Regions from separate parts of the Homo sapiens genome. Here region 1 is linked to region 2. The links are contacts of gene promoters, found by promoter capture Hi-C in blood cells and fetal thymus (Javierre and others, 2016). All regions are on one chromosome and are shown on one strand. Each heading gives the region's core, a stretch centred on a gene start or on the middle of the fragment in contact. The rest is flanking DNA. Distances are from core to core; before and after follow the strand shown. Region 1 has its middle 130 kb from the start of GDAP2. Region 2 holds the start of VTCN1 (V-set domain containing T cell activation inhibitor 1).

The links. The method cuts DNA at HindIII sites, captures the fragments that hold promoters and counts their contacts. A CHiCAGO score of 5 or more calls a contact.
Region 1: a fragment that was not itself captured here is called in contact with the fragment with the promoter of VTCN1 in region 2 in 2 of 17 cell types (erythroblasts and total B cells); the score reaches 5.2 in erythroblasts.

Annotation. Positions count from the first base shown.
Region 1 is chr1:117,799,945-117,803,901 of GRCh38, reverse strand. No RefSeq gene overlaps it. Among named protein-coding and RNA genes, the nearest start is that of GDAP2, 130 kb to the left of the region's middle. The HindIII fragment of the contact is 1,332 bases long and covers 961-2,292 here.
Region 2 is chr1:117,209,388-117,213,664 of GRCh38, reverse strand. It overlaps VTCN1 (V-set domain containing T cell activation inhibitor 1), which reads left to right and starts at 2,738. Exons shown (of 6, transcript NM_024626.4): 1 at 2,738-2,841. The coding sequence starts at 2,810. The HindIII fragment of the contact is 4,073 bases long and covers 2,539-4,277 here.

The DNA of each region.
Region 1 (3,957 bases), core at 377-2,876, 590 kb before region 2:
TGGCTTCCCAAAGTGCTGGGATTACAGGCATGAGCCACCATGCCCAGCCTTGTTTCTACTTCTGAGGAGGTTTGAGTAAGGACATATTTGCTCTATACCTTAGTCCAGCCTGACCTTTGTCAATAAGACATATCACATATCATCCAATGGACCCTTTATATGAATTGACCAAAATATTGTGGTCATCCCCTGTTTCCTACTTACTGTGTCACTGCTTAGGCTTCTGTGTGTGCCAGTTTTCAAAATCTTGAACTCTTGTTGGATGAATCTCACTGCCTTCAGCCTGATATAGTGCTGGCTTCAGGAAACCTCTCTTAGATCATTCTTACCCTAACTCTTGTTCTTCCACACTGTTTTTGTTAGTCTGACAACAGCGTAGGACTGGTGGATGCCTCTCTGAGTAAGCCTTTCTGGGTCAAATTAATTCCCCTTTTCACTGAGACTTGGCAAGCCCTGTGATATAGTTAGAATAAGGAATGCTATTGCTTTCTAGCCAAAGTGATATATGTCTTAGTAGATTTCTTTTAATTAGTAGTGACTGGGGATGTTTTTATGTCTCTGGATGAATCCTTCCCATCCAGAGTAATTATTATTCACTTGAGAAAGCAAACTAAAATTTTATGTTTCTCATAAATGTTTGAAAAGAAGCCACTTCATATTCCAGGAGAGGAAATCACAGGCTTGCCATGTGGACGGTCTATTTGAGGGCTCTTGGCTTTGAAATAAACATCTATCCAGTTTAGCCTCTGTGTGAGGAGCAGCATTTGATGCCACTAGGTGAGAGTACGCACAAGCTCATCCCTGCAGAACTCTGCCAGCTACTCCTTTCTGCACTGGTGGGCCTTATTAGTGTCACATGATCATTTCAAATAGGCCAAGTGGCTTTTGATTTCTAAGTCCCCTGCTTCTCTGTGGCTTATGCCATTCTACAAGAATCTAAATTCTATGATAATATAAGCTTATATAATACTACCAAACACGAGAGCACATTTTGTATTTCACTAGTCTAAGTTTGAGTACCTAGTAATTTTGAATTACATGACTAATCAACCAGTTGTCCTGCTGTGAACCTATCCCTTGCAGCCCTGAGTGTGGGTGGAAGACAAGGGTTTCCCCTCGGGTAGAGATGCTACACAGATGTCCTGGAGGAAGCGAGTATTTTTCGTAAATAGAGGGAAACAAAAGGAAGAATTGTACACATCTCCTCAAGAGGGCTCAGCTGAACAGGAAGGTCTGGAAATGCCTGAAGCTACCCTCAGTAAGAGGCAGGAGAGCAAAGAGAATGAAATGTTACTGCAAGATTTATGAAGGACTTGATTTATAAAAAGCTCAGAACTGATTTAATTGGGGCCAAGACCTCAACTTGAGAGGGATCTGACATACAAAGAATGTAGTGAGGCTGCTTTGCCCACCACTGCAGCTGGCTTGGATGTCACAGGCAAAATACATTTCTAAGGACATAAAAGTTGCCTATACATATACCATCTTAATATAATTTCCAATATTTGTAGAGTGAACCATAGTCTTCCTCACTGCTTAATTATTTGATTTTCATTCTCTGATCTCAGAAGAGAGTCATTTTCTTTTTCCTCTTACAAAGGATCTATTGATAAACTGGTTCCAGCTTTGTCTGTTCCATTCTTGGGTATGTGTGTCTTAATACCTCAGTCTCTTCTTAATCCCTCAGTCTCTGATTTGACAAGAATATTAGGACACCAAAGGAAAAACAAACAAATAAAAAAACTCTACCTAGAAGACATGCTGAATAGTAACAGAGAATGAGGTAGAATGTTCCCCTTTCATGACCCAAGAACTGATGAAATTTAAATATTATCATAAACTTATTGCCTCTGAAATACCTATGCATGATAGATACTTGGAGAAGGTCACAGGCCCAGTTTTGTCAGGCAGTAGTGAGAATACATTTAGGGTCATAGTTCAAGGCATAGTTCTGGTTGAAAGAGTTCATTGAAATACAGATTTAAGTCCATGCCTGAGAGGCCTGATTTATTCAGCTCTAAAGTTCTAAGGCCATTATCTTGACCCATTAGCATATATTTATGTAGGCTATTTGATTAAAATATGAAATTAAATGATCAGAATGTATTTTTCCAGTAGCACCACCCAAAACTTGCATTAACTGATGAGCTCTGATTTTTATCATTTGATTTAGTTAACTCCACAAGTTTGAACCTACCTCTATGGAACAAAGGCCATAATCTATCATACTTTTTAAAAAATGGACAATCTTCTACTGTAGATTATTAGCTTTTCTGGTATTTCAGCTAAGCTTCATGCACATTTACTCTAACACATTATAGGTCTCGGTGTATCAATCTGATATTTTACAAGAGGAGCAGAATCTGCTAAGAATACAGGCATATGTCATTTTATTGCACTTCACTTTATTGTACCTGCAGATATTATGGTTTGTTGGTTTTTTTCTTTTTTTTTTTTAAGACAGAGTCCCACTCTGTCACCTAGGCTGGAGTGCAGTGGCACAATATTAGCTCACTGCAACCTCCTCCTCCCAGGTTCAAGTGATTCTCCCACCTCAGCCTTTCCAGTAGCTGGGATTACAGGCACACCACCACACCCAGCTAATTTTTGTATTTTTAGTAGAGACAGGGTTTCTCTATGTTGGCCAGGCTGGTATCAAACTCCTGACCTCAAGTGATCCACCCCCCTTGGCCTCCCAAAGTGCTGAGACTATAGGCATGAGTCACTGCACCCGGCTGGGTTTTTTTTTTTTTTTTTTAAACGAATTGAAGGTTTGTAGCAACCTTGTGTTGAGCAAGTCTATCGGTATCATTTTTTCAACAGGTTGTGCTCATTTTGTGTCTCTGTGTCACACTTTGGTAATTCTTGCAATATTTAAAATTTTTTCATTATTATTATATCTGTTATGGTGATCTGTGATCAGTGATCTTTGAAGTTACTTTGTCATTGTTTGGGGTGCCACGAATTGCACCCATATAAGAAGGCAAACTTAATGGATAAATGTTGTGTGTGTTCTGACTGCTCCACTGACCAGCTGCTCCCCCATCTCTCTCCCTTTCTTCAGGCCTCACTATTCCCTGAGACACAGCAATATTGAAATTAGGCTAGTTAATAACTCAACAATGGCCTTTAAGTGCTCAAGTGAAAGGAAGAGTCATACATCTCTTATTTTAAATCAAAAGCTAGAAATGATTAAGCTTAGGGAGAAAAGCATGTCAAAAGCTGAGATGGCCCAAAAGCTAGACTTCTTGCCCAAAGGCAAACAGTTAGCCAAGTTGTAAATGCCCATGAGTTCTTGAAGGGAATTAAAAGTGCTACTCCAGGGAACACACAATGATAAGAAAGTGAAACAGCCTTACTGCTGATATTGAAAATGTTTTGGGGGTCTGGATAGAAGATCAAACCAACCTCAACATTCCCTTAAGCCAAAGCTTAATCCAGAGAAAGACCATAACTCCCTTCAATACTATGAAGGCTGAGAGAAGTGAGAAAGCTGCAGAAGAAGAGATTGAAGCCAGTAGAGGTTGGTTCATGAGGTTTAAGGAAAAAAGCCACCTCCATAACATAAAAGTACAAGGTAAAGCAGTAAGTGCTGATGTAGAAACTGCAGTAAGCAATCCAGAAGATCTAGTTAAGATAAATAATGAAGGTGGCTGCACTAAACAACAGATTATCAGAGTAGACAATACAGCCTTCGATTGGAAGAGGATGCCGTCTAGTACTTTCATAGCTAGAGAGAAGTCAATGCCTTAAAAGCTTCAAAGGACAGACTGACTCTTATTAGGGGCTAATGCAGCTGGTGACTTTAAGTTGAAGCCAACGCTCATTTACCATTCTGAAAATCCTATGGCCCTTGAGAATTATGCTAAATCTACCCTGCTGGCTATATAAATGGAAGAAGAAAGCCTGGATGACAGTGCATCTGTTTATAGCATGGTTTACTGAATATTTTAAGCC
Region 2 (4,277 bases), core at 1,489-3,988:
GTGTTCCAAAAGATGTGACCTAGGGGGAGCAGCCGGGTTAGAGATGGGAGATGGTGCCTTCTAGACAGCCGATTGGAGATGTCCACTAAGCAGCTGGGTATGTGGGGTTGGGGCTTGGTCAAGGGAAGGGAGCTGAGGATGCAGATATTGTGATCTCCAGAGCAGTCGAAGCAGAGCAGTGGTCAAGGTTGCCCAGGGCACATGTGTGCTATGAGAAGAAAAGGCAGAGGACAGGACCACAGGGACCCCTATCACTTATGGGAGAGGCGAAGGAAAAGGGCCTGGGCACAAGACAGTGAGGGGCATTAGTGAGAGTCTCAGAGAACAGTGTCAGGGGAGCCAAGAGAGGCTTTCAAATGCTGGAGAGTTCAATGTTTCCAAGACTCTCTCTTTACACGTGCACGCGCGTGCACATGCGCACACACACACTTTTGGGCTGTTGCTTTGTAATGATTTCCCTCATTATTTTGTGTGTGATATTCTTCAAGTTTTGGAGTCAGAACCAGAGTACTGTCCATTTGCTTCTCCAGAGGCAGCAGAATGCTTTTCAGCTCCACATCCCTGCCAGGTAATGCCTGCCCTCTAACAGGTGGGCCACTTCAGCTACATTTTCCCTCTCACTCGGAGGTGTCTCTGCTGGGTTGTCTTGATTTTCCCTCCAGGGTCATCCTTAGCTGTCCCTTTAGTGATGATGCATGGCTAGAAGAGAGAAACTCCATGGCTCTGCCCCAGGGTGTTTGAGGTGGGGCTGCTTTTTTGTTTTTTTTTTAAGACAGCATCTTGCTTTGTTGCCCATCGTGGAGTATACTGGCACGATCATGGCTCACTGCAGCTTCAAGCCCCACTCAAGTGATCCTCCCACCCCAGCCTCCTGAGCAGCTGGGACTATATGCCCAGCTAATTTTTTGTTTGTTTTCCTGTTACTAGATGGATTCTTTTTTTTTTTTTTTAAATTTTGTAGAGACGAAGTCTCAGTATGCTGCTCAGGCTAGTTTCGAACTGCTAGGCTCAAGAATTCCTCCTACCAGCCAGGCGCAGTGGCTCATGCCTGTAATTCCAGTACTTGGGGAAGTCGAGGTGGGTGGATCACTTGAGGTTGGGAGTTCGAGACCAGCTTGGCCAATATGGAGAAACCCCGTCTCTACTAAAAATACAAAAATTAGCTGAGTGCGGTGGTGCACCTATAATCCCATCTACTTGGGATGCTGAGGCAGGAGAATCGCTTGAACCCAGGAGGCAGAGGTTACAGTTACAGAGCCAAGATTGTACCATTGCACTCCAGCCTGGACAACAGAGCGAGACTCAGTCTCAAAAAAAAAAAATTCCTCCTACCTTGGCCTCCCAAAATATTGGGATTATAAGCTTGAGCCACTGTGCCCAGCTGAAGCTGCTCTTCTTAAGGCTCATTGAGGGGTAGGGCAGAATCCCTGTGCCTTTGGTTGGAATTACAGAAACCACTGCTCCCACTGCCCTCAGCTTCCCCAGACCCGGGAAGTGACCATTCAGCACTGGCACTGCATAGATTCCAGGGCATCACCCTTTACTTATTCTGGGGAAGGGAAAGCACATAGACCCGCCTCTCATTTATCCCTCACTGCAACCCAGTGAGACACACATTGAAGTAAAGTGATGTTCTCAAAGCCACATGATTAATTAGGAACCCAGGAATTGAACCTAGCTGTTTGACTCTAAAGGTCTTTCCACTGTGACCTTGCCCTCTCCTGCTGCCTTATTTTCACCACTCAGTTCTCTCTGCTCCATCTTTACTCAATGGTTGCTCCACCTGCCCATACGCAAACACTAGGAGGATGCTGCTGAAGGCCTGGAGCACCTTCACTGCAAACATAGTCAGTCAGCAGCAGCAGTAAGCCAGGCAACCAGTCATGAAACTTTCCCATCCAAGGTACTTCTGGGGGCTGGAGGAAACAATAAGGAGAGAGAGAGAGAATAAGAGAGAGAGAGAGCAACGTTTAGGCTTTAACGAGAATCTTGCCTAGTTGGCAATCTGCTGGATGAAATGTCAGAGATTTTTGCTAACCCACTCACCTTTGACAGCAATAGCTTCTGAGTATTGGGATCTCCAGAGAGAGGGGCAGTTGAAGCAGAGCACATTCAGTGTCTTTTTGGAGTCTCAAAAAAATTGCAAGGTGGGAAGTGCTGGCCCTCTCCTGCTCCCACTGAAATGAAGCTGGAAGAGAATTGCACACCCAGCTGGGCATCTCAGGAGACCTAGGCAAGTTCAGTCTTGAGTGACAAACTCAGTGGTCTTGTCACTTCAGCTCATGGCCTTCCTGAGGTCCCCCAGCATGAGTCTCCTCCACGAGAGACCTGACCAATGGTGACCCAGCCTCTGTTTGAGCGTCATCTACCAGCAGAGATGGGGACTCCTGGCCCCAAGGCTCCCAGCATAGCCTGACACTTTGAGCTATTCCAGTCCTTTCTTATTTTGAGATTAAATCTCCCTCCCTACAGCTCCCTTCCACAGTCAGGAGGAAAGTCCTGCTGAATGCAGGCCCTGAAGCAAGGGCCAGGGAAGCTTTTCCTCGTCACCCTCCCAAAGTCAAGACTTGGAAAGGCAGCTCTGAGCCCCTGGCTTGGCTGGCTGGCCGGAGCAGGCAGCCACTGTGCCTGCAGGGAATTCTGCACAGCCAGTTTCCTCATACCTGAGCCGTCTACAGCTGCACGCACCACTCCCGGCCTCAACACACTATTTAAGGCCAATACACGGGAGCTGGTTGTGAGTCACCAAGGAAGGCAGCGGCAGCTCCACTCAGCCAGTACCCAGATACGCTGGGAACCTTCCCCAGCCATGGCTTCCCTGGGGCAGATCCTCTTCTGGAGGTAGTATATACTCTTCTCTCTATCCTTATGGGTGAAGGGAACAGCAGTGAGGTCTTTTGGGGATGCTGAGCACTGCTGGGCTGTCCCATAGGACCCCACCTGTAATTTTATCTGATCCAGCATTGGGCCAGCGGGAGCCTGGCCAGACAAGAGCCTAACTGGATTTGACTTAACATCCCACCTCAGCTGCTCAAGGCACCTGTTCAGGGTTAGGGAGGTTTTTGGTTGGTGGCCTGCCATGGAGGGCTGGCGCTTGCTGGGCAGCTTGGACTGAGGGGAGTACGTGCCAAGCTGGGCATTCCCCTGAGATGTCAAGGCTGTGAGCACCATGGGGACACTGAGCAGGCTGGTGTGGGTTGCATGGTGGGATGGCAGGGAATCCATGACTGCGACAGTGGAGGGGATGCAGGAGGACCCTTTATGCAGCCCCCAGGGGGACGGAGGAGAATGTGCTTTCATTCTCTGTGGGTGTGATTTCTTGCTACTCTTGAGCAATTCACACCAACACCCCTCCCCAGGCCCCCCCAGCTCAAAGGTTGGGTCCCTAGTTTTCCTAGGAGCTCCTTGGAGAGGAGAACTTGCTGCTGCTGCTGCTGCTGCTGCTGCTGCTGAACTCCCCAGAGAGGAAGAAGGAAGCAAGTTCCCTCCCCTACCTTTTGCTTCTCCCCTGAGCTACATTCTAGTTGCCTCTTTTTCCCTCAGAACAGCATTTACCCTCCTGGAAGGAAAGAGATGGAAAGTGCAGGGTTTTCTTGAAATGATTGATTCAGTGTCAGTCACAACTCAGGACAGTGTTTAGGGAGGCTGATACTTGTTGGTTCTAGAGGTTGTTTGAAGGACCAGTCCTCCAATTTGTTTCTTTTTCCCACAAAAGGAAGAAAAGAAGAGAGGGAAGGAGAGAGGAAAGGAATCCTCAGGTCAACAGTGAAAAGTTTGTGAAGAGACTACGAGAGTAATGTTACTTCCCAGAGGCAGCCTAGAAAGTTCTTTTCCTTGAAACAAAATATCAGCTCCCCTGACTCGACTCACGTTTATCTGAAATCACCTGCCGGGTAGCAGAGGTGAAGGACTCTGCAGGGCTGGTGGGGGTGGCTGCAGCGGCACTTCTGCCCCCACCCCTGTGCCTGGCTACAGCACTGTGCTCCAGGAGAAGCAGTGGGTGGCAGGGGCTTCCCTCTAGACCCTTCTGCCCTGAGAGGATGTCCCTAAGAAGCACCTATGTCAGAGGAGCTAGCATTTTGTGAGTGACTCCTTCCCTGCCCTGCACTAGGTGTCTTAGAGCAGCGTGTCCACCACTGCCTTGTGAAGACTCGTTATCACCTCAGAGAAGTTAAGGCCAGATGACTGTGAAACTGTGCATGAGGGGATCTTGCTCTGAAATCCCAAGCTCTCTCCCCCTGCCACCCTTGCCCCTGCTCCTGCCAGTCCCAGTTCTC